Regions from separate parts of the Homo sapiens genome. Here region 1 is linked to region 2. Evidence: promoter capture Hi-C in human tissues and cell types (Jung and others, 2019). All regions are on one chromosome and are shown on one strand. The core of a region is centred on a gene start or on the middle of the fragment in contact, and the rest is flanking DNA. Distances in the headings are between cores, read along the strand shown.

Evidence for each region. The method cuts DNA at HindIII sites, captures the fragments that hold promoters and counts their contacts. A contact is called where the count stands out against the background at its distance.
Region 1: a contact is called between a fragment that was not itself captured here and the fragment with the promoter of MAPKAP1 in region 2, in 2 of the 25 tissues and cell types used here (dorsolateral prefrontal cortex and hippocampus).

The regions. Positions count from the first base shown.
Region 1 is chr9:125,607,312-125,614,197 of GRCh38, forward strand. All of the region lies in intron 4 of MAPKAP1 (MAPK associated protein 1), which reads right to left. Among named protein-coding and RNA genes, the nearest start is that of MAPKAP1, 96 kb to the right of the region's middle. The HindIII fragment of the contact is 6,770 bases long and covers 1-6,747 here.
Region 2 is chr9:125,705,198-125,711,877 of GRCh38, forward strand. It overlaps MAPKAP1 (MAPK associated protein 1), which reads right to left and starts at 2,011. Exons shown (of 12, transcript NM_001006617.3): 1 at 1,774-2,011. RefSeq lists silencers at 1,715-1,944, 2,055-2,224 and enhancers at 1,933-2,227, 2,225-2,384. The HindIII fragment of the contact is 13,511 bases long and covers 1-6,680 here.

The DNA of each region.
Region 1 (6,886 bases), core at 2,113-4,612, 97 kb before region 2:
AAGACAAGCAAGATATAAAGGGTGTTTTTCAAAGACTGGCTCTTCATTCCAACACTACAGCAGCTAATATTTATCAAACACTATAGGTCAGATATCACCCCATACATTTGACATCCATATTAGCTTATGTAATCTCAAACAACTCTGAGTTAGATTCAACAATTATTTCTATTTTAGAGTTGAAATGGAAGCTTGCAGAAATGAAGCAACATGCCCAAAGTTACACAGCTAGTGAAGCGAGGATGCTAACTGGGGATGTCTAACTCCAGAGTCTGAGTTCTTACTCATCACTTAAAATTGCCTTCCCCACTGCAAAGTCGCTTACTTTGCTTTTATTTTTTATTTATTTATTATATATTTTTTGAGACAGTGTCTTGCTCTGTCACCAGGCTGGAGTGCAGTGGCACGATCTCGGCTCACTGCAACCTCCGCCTCCCGGGTTCAAGCGATTCTCCTGCCTCAGCCTCCCAAGTAGCTGGGACTACAGGCATGTGCCACCACACCCAGCTAATTTTTGTATTTTTAGTAGAGACGGGGTTTCACCATGTTGGCCAGGATGGGCTTGATCTCTTGACCTTGTGATCTGCCTGCCTTGGCCTCCCAAAGTGACTTTGCTTTTAATAAGACTGTATGGGGGCAAAGAGCAAACAAGTTACAAATCAACTTGTGGGCTTCCGAAGGATGGCCATGTCAATGGGCAGACAGGCACCAGCAGGGAGGGTATGTCACGCCAGCGCCTGTAGTGACTGGGAGGATGATGCATCCAACAGTCCCACTGCAACCATGGCACTCTAGGGTTCTACTTACCCCATGTCATAGTGTTATTAGAAAAAGAAAAAAAGAATAGTAGCAGACATGCTTCGAAGTTTCCAGAAAAGTCCTGAAGTTTTAATCAAATAGCTGCTGTGTTCCCATTATGTTACAGTCAAGCCTTTTCACAATGTGACAAAGGAAGCAAAGCTTTTTATTTATTTGTTAGTCTGATCATTTATTTATTTATGTTCACATCTCTTGCTTCCTGAATCCTTTGATGTAAACAGTGAACAAGCCATCATAGCAAGGGAAATGGCACTGACAGTGGATGCTCTGAATCCACTCCCTTTAAAAAGAGAATTCAAGTCAAGAAAACCCCCAAATGCCAGGCTTTCAAAGCCAAAATTCTAAAAGCCATCACATTTGCATTTAGGGCTTCTTGGGGCCGCCGCTGTGGCACCAAAATCCACCAAAGATAAAGAAGATATTTGTACTAAGTTGGGAAAGTGGAGACATCAGCATTTCCGCCTTCAGACCATTATTCCTGCTCTCCAGACAGCACCTGATAAAGCATCTGGAGTGTTTTGTCTTCTGCGCAGCCACTGCTTTTCCGACGCCTGCGCTCAGGGGTTTCCCTGGGGTTTCCTTTCCAACAATTGCACAGAGACTCTGAGAGGAGCCCAAACCGGCTGCCTTAACCTTCCAGTAAACCGCTATTTCCACAGAGGATTAAATCAAACGTTTCAAATAAGCCAATTTCCTTTACTAAAAAACCAAAATGACAATATTAGTACCAAGAGAAATATACAAAGATGATGAATAAGACATACTTCTCCTGTCTTTGGGCATGCAAAAAAATAGAGAGCAAAAGGTTAGATGGAGGTGGGTTACACAATTCCCTCTTATTTCCAATACTGCCCTACAGTGGAGCCTAACTAAGAAGATACACAAGAATTAGACTGAGTCATATCAAGAGGGAGAGAAAAAAACCTAAATGCTTATACTACCTGAAACATGCTGATGTTTCATGTTATATATTTTTAAATTCCTGTTAATTGTAAATTTGTCTATTAAAAATGCAACTGTGTCATTTTTTAATTAGGTACTTCCAGAATTCTGGGGATGCAAAATGGTTACTTGCTGAACTGATGGGAATGAAAATTCCTATCTTTGAGGTCTCTATAGAAGGGAACAAGTTTCCTTCCCCTAAAGTACCCAAAGCAGCTCCCTTGAACCACAGCAAGTGGGAACTTCCTTTGACCCAAAGGGGTAGGGATATATATGCTCAACTAAATGAACAGGACATATACAAAAAAGAGCTGGAACAGAAAAAATCCTTAAGAAATCCCACTCTCGGAATGCTAAGGGAAGCAGACAGCCTCTGGCTTTGTTTCACCTGCCAAGCTTCTTTATTTATTTGTTTGTTTGTTTGTTTTTAAGAAAGAGTATGTTGTTTATTTGTCTTTAAGAAAGAGTCTCACTATGTTGCCCAGGTTGGTCTTGAACTCCCGAGCTCAAGTGATCCCCTTGCCTCTGCCTCCTGAATAGCTAACTCAGGCACTTGTCACCGGGCCTGGCCTGCCAAGCTTCATCCTGTTTTCCTCATTTTCTGACCCTGAGTGCCTTTCTCGTTTTTCTCTTTTTGGTAGTTTTGGTAGTTTCTCCCAAACCCACATTCAATTTTACACTACTCCATGTACAATGTGAGATGTTTCACATTTAACACTCTATTAACAGCATCTTGAACATTTCTGGAAAGAGAATAACTAAAATTAAAAATGGCTACCATTTACTCTGTGCCTGGCACTGGGCTGAGTGTGCCACATAAATTCTCTCTTTTGATCTTCAAAACAGCCCCCACTTACCCTATTTTACAGATAAACTGCTAAGAGGTGAAAGAAATTGTTAAAGGTCACACAGCCAGTAAGATAACTCAGATGGAAACCCGCCTCTGACTGACTCAAAAGACCACAATCTTAACTTGACAACAATTCTTCCCAAAACCAATATATTTGAAAAGCTTTTTTGGAGGGAAAGTTCTTATTTGAAAAAACATCTTCTTACATTTTGAATCAACATTTGCATGAAATAAAGAGCCATGATATGTGTAAACACAAACTCTTTCTCTTCATTCTGTAATATATATTCCTCTCCCACAGCATTTAATACAACACACTAAAAACTATTTTACTATAGGACTTGTATTTCAACCATATGGCAAAGTATGTATCCTGACCAACCCTCAAACAGAAAACAGTTAAACATATTTATGAAATATAAAAAGAGCTATTTTATCTGACTCAATACACTGGTTGGCAACTTTTTAAGGCAATCACAAAAGCACAAAGACTAAGTGAAAAGAGAATCTAGAATGAAAAACAGAACATAATTTTGCCTTAATGATGGTACTTGCCAAACAAGGTGACATGAAGTGTCAGTTTTCTTGGTCAGCAGGCTATAGGGAACAGTCTATCTATAACCTATAATAAGACCGTGATACCCTCCTCACAACCCACCACCACCAAAGACCTACATGTGAGAGTAAATTAGAATTAAGGTTTCCCGACTGACCTCCAGCAAGGTAAAACTGCCTGTCTTCCCCCAAAATTATTTTCTTCCTCAGACTTTATAAACATAAACGAACCTTCATATGAAATTTCTATCCCAAATTCGTATTATTTGATGGACCAGAAAGATTTTAAGCCAAGAATTTAAAGTGGTCCTGAGGTGGTAGTGCCCCCAGGTTCTAGGTAGAAGCAAACGCAGATCCTATTGGGAAAAACCTAAATGACTCAAATAATTCCAACAGAAAAATTTGCAAGAAATAATTTGTTCTATCTCCAAATCACAAAACATAGAAGGCATCATGAAATAGGCCCAGAAAGACTGGAGTTAACAGTATGATCAGAAGCAAAATATAAAATAAATGTGTAAGCAAAAATGTGGAGTAAGTGCAAGAGACTATAAAAGATTATCCAAGGTGTGATATATTATGGTTGAGTAGGAGAATGTCGCTAGGAGTGAATGTCAACTTTTAAAGATTAAATAAAGCATAAATAAAGCAAATATGACAAAATGTTAACAATTACTGAATACAGGTGCTACACATAAGGGTGCTCACTGAACTTTTACTAATAAAATTACTACACTTTTCGTAATAGTTTTTTAAATTACCAAGCAGATTTTTACAAGATCAAAATCAGACTTCTAGAAATTAAAAATACAACAACTAAAATTGGAAATGCAACATATGGGTTCCACAGCTGAGGAGAGAATCTGTTAGGAAGATATGAGTTGAAGAAATTACCTAGAATGCAACCCAAAGAGACACAGAGATAGGAAATAAGAAAGAGAAATTAAGAGATGAGAAGGATAAAATAACACATTCTGATAGGTGTAGCTAGAGTTTCAGAAGAAGAGAAAAGAATAACTGGTTCGGAGGCAATGTCTGAAAAGACAGTGGCTGAGAATTTTCCAGAATGATGAAAGACACTAATATGCAGATTCAGAAAGCCCAATGAATGCAAAAGAAGAAAAATAGGAAAGAAGATCTGTATCTTAAAACATCAAAATGAAATTGCATCTATACCAGACAAATATCAACCAAATGGAGCAGGTGTAACTATTTGAAAGGGAGGAAAACTTCACTAGAGTTAATCACAAATGACAAATGGTTCAATTCACCAGGAAAAAATAGCAATTCTGAAATTGTGTGAACATAAAAGCATAACATCACAATATACAAAGAAAAAATAGTCACAATTAACAAGAAAAAATGGACAGTCTATCAACAGCAGGAAATTCAAGCGTATTTCTGTCTAACTGATGGCTTGGACAAAAATATCTGTAAAGAAAATTTTAACAGATTTACAGATTGAGTATCCCCTATTCAAAATTATTGGGACCAGGAGTGTTTCATATTTAAGATTCTGAAATATTTACACTATACTTATTGGTTGAGTAACCCTAATCCAAAAATCCAAAATGTAATATGCTCCAATGAGCATTTCCTTTGATCATGCTCCAAAGGAAATGCTTGTTTCTAAATATTTTCTGATTTCTGTTATTTTTTGATACATGAGTTACTTATAAGCGCTCAAAAAGTTTTAGATTTTGGAGCATTTTAAACTTCAGATTTTCAGAGTAAGAATGCTCAACCTGTAACAGTCTTGACCTAATGACAATATTTAGAATATTGCAACCAACAGCAGCTAAAATCACATTCTTTCCAAGTTCACATATAATATTTATAAAAGGTGACCTATATTAATGGGCATACAGCCATGCTCAACGAATTTCAAATAACTGGTAGTGTCACAGCTTCTGTACAAATTCTTTTAGTTTTTTTTTAAATTTAAAATTTTTATGTTAGCTCTTTAATGGGGGGCGGCATGTGGAGTAAGATTGGAAATTAAACTTATCTACTAACAATCAGTTGTTGTAGAACCACAATAAACTGAGTTCCTAAACGCACTGTCTATTTCCTGATTCCCTATTCTTTCTGAAGCCATCTGTCCTGCAGTGTTTTTGAACAGGCCAGCATTCATGTACAAATCTTTATGTGAATGAACTTATGTTTTTAATTCTGTTGGGTAAATAGAGGCTCTATCAATTAAGAGATCCTGATTCCCAAAGGGAGAACACTTCCACTGGGAGACACAGCAGAAGTACCACTAAATGTTAAAACTATGGCTGCAGCCCAGGTTCCTCATGCCAAGGGACATCAGGCAAGAAGGAAAGTCACCATCCTCACAGGAGTGACTGACACTCATCAAAAGAACATGAGGCTGTTACACAATGGAGGCAGGAAGAAACACATCTAGCCAGTAAATCCATTGGGGTATCTTATTACTTTTACCCAATTTTAGTGGTTAATGGACAAATGAAGCAGCTACATCCTGAGAAAGGTAAACAGAGGCTTGGGCCCTCAGACATAAGGATCTGGGTCATCATACCATTTAAGACCTAGACCAGCCAAGATGCTAACTAACCAAGGTTGACAGGACTAGAATAAATACTTGAAGAGACAGATGAGTGTTAGTCATGACCTCAAGACCAGTGGTAGAAACAGGACTGTAGATCATTATACTAACCCTCTTTGTATAAATTTCCCCAAAGAAACGAAGTCCAACGCAGACCTGAAGGTGTGCTCCCAGAACTTAACATGAAGCCAGTAAACCCAAGCAGCACCAAGGGTGGACTGTACCACCCAGATTCCCTCTTTTCAGGAATAAAGCGCATATTTCCCAACTGCTGGAAGGAATGCTGGCTGATGGCTATCAGCTGTTAGTCCTTTCCTGCAATTGTGCTGGCTGACAGAGTCACCTTGCCAAGACTGCACCTCCTTCTCACGACACTCAGAATCCAATGATAGGTTAGATGCAAGAATGTAAGAGGCCTGACCCCCTTACCCTAACTTGGGACAACTGTGAAGGTCCATCCAGCTGCAGAGTACTCCATGGTGTCAGGTGAGGCCTTGTTACGACTGCATCACAGTCCCAACTCCTCCCTCTACCCAATTCTGTTTTCCTCCCTTTTCCACACAGATGCTAATCCAGAAAACACTCCCTAATACATTTCCTGCATGTTAATCTCCATTTCAGAGACTGCTTCCCAGGAGAACCCAACCTGTGACAACAATAGTTTACTTTTATTAGCAGGTTCCGCCAAACATTCAAAGAACAGATAATGCTAGAATTACCCATACTATTTAACCTTACTGAAAAAGAGCAATTTCTTTTTTTTTTTTTTAAGACGGAGTCTCGCTCTGTCACCCAAGCTGGAGTGCAGTGGCGCGATCTCAGCTCACTGCAAGCTCCGCCTCCCAGGTTCACGCCATTCTCCTGCCTCATCCTCCCCAGTAGCTGGGACTACAGGCGCCCGCCACCACGCTCGGCTAATTTTTTGTATTTTTTAATAGAGACGGGGTTTCACCATGTTAGCCAGGATGGTCTTGATCTCCTGACCTCGTGATCCACCCGCCTCGGCCTCCCAAAGTGCTGGGATTACAGGCGTGAGCCACCAGGCCCGGCCAAAAAAGAGCAATTTCTAAATCACTTTATAAGGTTAGAAAAACCTCCATATCCAAACCTGAGAGTGTAAGAGAATAATCTTACAGGCCAGGTTTACTTGT
Region 2 (6,680 bases), core at 761-3,260:
TGATGTGAGAAAAAGGCAAGACATGTAATGGAAAAAGCACAGATTTAGGCATCAGACAGACCTGGGTTTGAATCCTGGCTCTGTCTCCTACCAGCTGTGTAATTTATTATGGGTCTTCCTAATCTGTAAATTGAGGTTAAAATGATTAAACAATAGAAACCCCTATATAATACCCAAATACTCAAAGTTTAGTTTACCTCAAATTATGAAGCATTACCTGGCCACATCCCATCCCTCAAAGGTGAATAACCCATTCCCCTCCCGCACCTACCACTGTCACAAGAACTCTCACACAATGTACTTATCACGGTGTTAGAATTATTCATTTCCCTTATCTCTCTTTCACTAAATTGAGCTCCCTGGCAGCAAAGACTGAATCTTATATTTATCTCTAATTGCCTAGCATGGTACCTGGCATATATATACATATCCATATTCAGTAAACATTTGCTAAGTTAAATAATTGTAGATAAAAATGAGCGCTTATAGAATTCTAGAGGAAAAATCATTTCCAGGTGGGGTTGTCCTGAATTGGTTGGGTGAGGCCAACTCAGCTGAGCCGTGGGAAGCGTCTCAATAGACTGAAAGAGAAAAGGGGAAACCTAGGCAAGGTAGGGAGAATGTTCTACAAAAATCAATGGAATAGGAAAGAACAAAAATGATTAGAGATCCTACTTATTCAGAGTAATGGATCAGGATGGGGTAATTAAAGAAGGAGACCTTTTCAAGCATAACTGGAAAGGTAACCAGGAGCCAGATTAGGAGATGTAAGGGGGTGTAAGTGCAGTCTGGGACACACAGTAGTTGAAGGTAGGCATGAGCACACAGATGAATGGGAAAGGGCTACCAGCATGCCCCAAATCCCGCAGGTGTGTAAACTGAAAAACATGAAAACAATTATTGCTTCATCAAGAACTCTTTCCGTGTTTACTAGGTACCTTGTGTGGGCTCATAAAATATAAGGAATAAAACCCATATCTAGGCTTCTGCTCAAGTGGGTTTTAACATTACGGATCCACCTCTCCTGCTTGTCAGAGAATGAGAACGCTGCTTTTTTTAAACCAATGGGTCTCCATTTGACTCTTCACACCTGGGAAAGTTTTGAACTTTGCCGATTTGGGTTTATAACAACATGGTGCTTTGTACAGTGCCAGGTACTGTGGTGGGCTTCCAAAGTGACTTTCATTCATTCAAAAGGAAGTTTTAACCAATTTCTGAGTCAATTTGGGGGTCTCTGGTTAAAGTCATAATCTTGTTTACGCTACAATCTCTTTTTCCCAGCCTTAAACAAATCTAAATGACTCCTTGCCACTCCCATAAACAAAGAATGAATCAAAGTTCCAGCAGCACTGTAGCTAGAAAAAAGTCTGTAAGGCTGTTAACCTCTTTAAGGGGGAGGGGGAGAAGGGACGCAAGGAAACAAGGACCACACAGTCAATGCTTGAAAACCTTGATTTTCACATTATGAAGACCAGGGCACCTAGATATTGCCAAGTGCAGGCCCAGAAACTGCCGGAGTCAACTACACCCCCCACCCCCACACTACCAGGTCAGCTGGCTTCTTTTCCCCTAAACCACACACCCGCCTCAGACTCCTGACAGCCTCCAGTTCTGGAAATGGCCAGGAAACGAACGCGCCCGGGCCACCTGAACAAGGGCCCGGCAGGCGGCCCGCCGGGCAGCGCTGAAACTGGAGGGGTGAGAGGGCCGCCAGGTGGGCAAGCTGGTGGGCTGACGGACGGGCGGGGAGCTGGCGGCTGGGGCAACCTTTACCTGAAGCTGCTTCCACACTACGGGCCGGGTCGGCCCCGGGACACGTTCCTGAGGGGAGGGCCCGGCTCCCCCACGCCTCCCGGCCCCTGCCCCGAGCTCTGCACTCTCGGGATCCACGGGGACCGGCGCTCCTCCCGGCCCGCTCAGCTGCCGCTTCCCGGGTTAGCCCTCATGCCCCTGCTGCTCGCCGCCGCCGGCCGGCCGAGCAGCAGCCCTATTACCCCGAGCCGCACACGACCCGGAACCACACCCCGGCGTTCCGGAAGTCCCCGACCGGGAAGGAGCCTCTGGCTGGGGACGTAGTGCGCAAGCCCCAGAGCTGAAAGCAAGGAGCGGTAGCTTCCCGCGGGGCGGGGCCGGGAGGGAGGCCGGGCGCATGCGCGCCGCTTCTCCAGTGCAGGGAAAGGCCTGGGTCGGAGACTGAGTTCTGGCAAGATGCGCCAGTGCCTGGACTTGCCTTGAGCAGGAATCAGTGTTAGGCTTCTCCATCGAATCTTCTTTCTCCCCATTTCCACGGAGAAAAGCCCTTAGTTCGTCCAGAAATGAGTGATGAGGCAGCTCAGCCTCTCTGAGAAAGACCTGGGTTCAAATGCCAGCTCTTATAACTTGCTGTGTGTCCTAGGATGTGACACTTCTCTCTGAGCCTCGGGTTTTCCCATCCAGGGCAATAGTTTCAACTTTAGAGTATATTGCTGTGGGAATCGAATGGGATGATGCTTGAAAAACACCCAGCATAGTGCCTGACACATAGTAAACATGCAGTCAATGTTAGTTATTTCTCTTATTATAATATCTGTAATATGGAGGTGACAATAATCTTCCTCAAGCCCTGCTGGGAGGTTTCCAGGAGATGTAGGAGGACTGGCACAGGGCAGAAGTTCAGTGTGTCTCATGCTGCTCCCTTCCTCTCTCACGGAGGAAATCAGTAGAGAAAGCCACGATGAAGGGGGAAAAAGGATTCAGGGAGTGCAGTGAGAGTGGTTCTCCCACCTGAAAGATGCTTGGGGAAGTCTCTCAAAAACGCACCTTAGCAAAAGAAAAAACTCAAGGTTGAATTTCAGCCCTGAGGGACCCCTGCCCAATTTTAAACTTATTAATAAATATGCCATGGGGCCAGGCACGGTGGCTCACACCTGTAATCCCAGCACTTTGGGAGGCCGAGGAGGGCAGATCACTTGAGATCAGGAGTTCGAGACCAGCCTGGCCAACATGGTGAAACCCTGTCTCTACTAAAAATACAAAAATTAGTCTGGCGTGGTGGTGTGCACCTGTAGTCCCAGCTACTCAGGAGACTGAGGCAGGAGAATGGCTTGAACCCGGGAGGCAGAGGTTGCAGTGACCCAAGATCAGGCCACTGCACTCCAGCCTGGGTGACAGAGACTCTGTCTCAAAACAAAAAAACAAAAAACACGGTGGGTCTACCCATGTATTTCAAATATGGTCATCCATCACTTAATGATGAGGACACAAGAAATGCATCGTTAGCTGATTTTGTGGTTGTGTAAACATCATAGACTGTACTTACACAATGTCAGAGCCTACTACACACCTAGGCTGTTTGGTATTAGCCTATTGCTTCTAGGCTGCACACCTGTACAGCATGTTACTGTACCATATACTGTAGGCAATTCTAACACAATGGTATTTGTGTATCTAAACATCTCTAAATGCAGAAAAGGTACAATTAAAAGACCATGTTATAATCTTAGGGGACCACCATCATATGCACTCTGTCATTGACCAAAACATCCTCATTCCACGCATGACCATATGTGATTGATCTCTTACTACATCCCATTACTTTATGTAATTGGTATCTTACCACATATCTATACTGGGGGAATAGTGCACCTCAGCACCCAGACACACTCTTGCACACACACCACCACAGTTCCATCAGGGACCTGTCAGAGGCACTCTAACAAAGCAGCAGGTGTGAACAAGTTTGGATATTTGATTTTCTGAGGTCACCAGGTTATCTGTTCCTTCCTAAATCTTACTCTCCATTTTCCTCTCTCTCTCTCTCGAGTTCCAATCTGAAGCACAGCTGCCTGACTGTCTCCTAGACACATAAAACTCGACCTATCTAAAACTGCTAAGCAGTTATAGATTCTAAAGAGTAAATATTTCCTAGCACTTTGAGAGACCAAGGCAGGAAGATCATCTGAGCCCAGGAGTTCAAGACCAGCCTAGGCAACATGGTGAGACCCCATCACTACCTTAAAAAATTTATCTCTATATAGGCCGGGCACGGTGGCTCATGCCTGTAATCCCAGCACTTTGGGAGGCCAAGGGGTGCGGATCACAAGGTCAGAAGATCAAGACCATCCTGTCTTAACATGGTGAAACCCTGTCTCTACTAAAAAAAAAAAAAAAAAAATACGAAAAATTAGCCAGGCATGTGGCACACACCTGTAGTCCCAGCTACTTGAGAGGCTGAGGCAGGAGAATCGCTTGAACCTGGGAGGTGAAGGTTGCAGTGAGCACACCACTGCAGCCCAGCCTGGACAACAGAGTGAGAGTCTGTCTCAAAAAAATAAAAAATAAAAAAATATATATATACACACACATATACACATATATTTTTTTTAGCCAGGTGTGGTGGTGAATGCCTGTAGTCCTAGCTGCTTGGGAGGCTGAGATGGGATGATTGCTTGAGCCCTGGGAGGTCAAGGCTGCAGTGAGACGTGATCATGCCACTGCACTCCAGCCTGGATGAAAGAGCAATGCCCTGTCTTGAAAAAAAAATTAGAAAAATAAAAAGTGAATACTCACTCTGCCACTTACAAGTTTTGTGACTTCATCTCTCCAAGTTGCTTCTCTAAATATTCTTATCTTTACCTGGAAAATGGGAATGACAGAAGTCCTACATAACCTCATTAGTTTGTTGCAAGGATAGAATGACCTAATACATGTAGCTTACATATAACAGAGCCTGGCATGTGACTATTATTTACTAATGCCTACCAGTATGAGTATACCTCAGTCAGTAAGCAATACTTATTGAGTGCCTATTGAGATTCAGTGGTGAAAAAGCCAGACGGGGACCCTACCCTTAAGAAGCCTTGTAGTCAAGTTCGACTATGGGTTTGAAATACTGTAGTTACTGTGGTAAGTTGGCATGCAGTGATATATGGTAGGATTTCAAGGACAGTATTGAGGGCCCAGTTGAGAATGGAGACTAAATGTATGGTGATACTAATATGATGGCTAGTGTGATTATTCTATAGCTAGTTGGAGCAGTCACGATACACACACCCAAAGAATGAGAAGTTGGATTGATCCAAGGAAGGATTTTGCCAGACAGGTGTGATGGGGTCATATCAGCTTTTAAGAGTGCTTAAAACAATGAGCCATAGAAAGTATGCTGGATAGGGAAGCAAGAGAATTCCAGAAAAACAGGTATCACTGGCCTAAAGGTCTCAAATAGATGTAATGGAAGTCACTGATGAAGGAAAGCAGAAGGATGGAGGTTATTGTCACAGATGGATGTTTCAACAAATAACCTCAGAGGAGGAGCCATGTGAGAGGGGGTCCCAGCTAAAGTGGAATGGGGGGAAAATCACTGAAGATGAGATAGTCAAGGAACTGAGATCCTTGTGAACGTCCATCCCAAGATGGTGGACAGACATGGGGTGAAAAGGAAACCAGACGTGCTCCCCATGGCATCTGCAACTGAGGAACAGCACTGGGGAGGTAGATGAGGAGGAGAGAGGAGAAACTAATTGGATGGCATGAGCCTCCAAGAAGCAGGAGTTGTATTGGTGGAAGTGTCATTAAAGCATACATTGACCTGTCTCCTGACCTGGGGTGTACAGTGGTAGGACCATGAGAGCTAACACACATACAAATTTTTTTTTTTTTTTTGAGATGAAGTCTCGCTCTGTCGCCAGGCTAGAGTGCAGTGGCACGATCTCAGCTCACTGTAACCTCCGCCTCCCAGGTTCAAGCCATTCTCCTGTCCCAGCCTCCCGAATAGCTGGGACTACAGGTGCCCGCCACCATACCCGGCAAATTTTTCTATTTTTAGTAGAGACGGGGTTTCACCATGTTGGCCAGGTTGGTCTCGATCTCTTGACCTTGTGGTCTGCCTGCCTCTGCCTCCCAAAGTGCAAGGATTACAGGCGTGAGCCACCACACCCGGCCACAAAAATAACATTTTTACAGCACACTGATGGTGCTGGGCCAGGGGCTGGCTAGGGGACTCCCATAGACATCAGGGCAGCGGGACAGGTACCTGGGCATACCTATGACAATCAGGCTTCACAGCCTTCATCTCCAGCTTGGAAAGGAAGCCATGTTAGGGGGTGGAGGTTCTTTTTCTTCTGGTTCCCGGGACTAGAGAGGGTCAGTGGGCAGAAGTTCAAAAACACCTACTACCGGGCCGGGCGTGGTGGCTCCTGCCTCTAATCCCAACGCTTTGGGAGGCCAAGGCGGGCGGATCATGAGGTCAGGAGATTGAGACCATCCTGGCTAACACGGTTAAACTCCGTCTCTACTAAAAATACAAAAAATTAGCCAGACGAGGTGGCAGGCACCTATAGTCCCAGCTACTGGGGAGGCTGAGGCAGGAGAATGGTGTGAACCTGGGAGGCGGAGCTTGCAGTGAGCCGAGATCATGCCACTGCACTCCAACCTGGGCGACAGAGCGAGACTCTGTCTCAAAAAAATCAAAATAAAACAAAACAAAAACAAAAACAAAAAAAACACCTACTACCTGTGTGGCCTTCAACAAGTTACTTGCCTTTCTTGTGTCTGTTTTCTCATCTAGGTTGTTGTGAGAATTCCATGAGGTACTGCAGAGAGAGTAACTAGAACAGTGCCTGGTATACAGGAGGTGTTGCATAAATGCCAGCTCTTCTGGCCCGGCACGCCAAGATGGGCAGTAAGGATCAGGTCCCTTCACA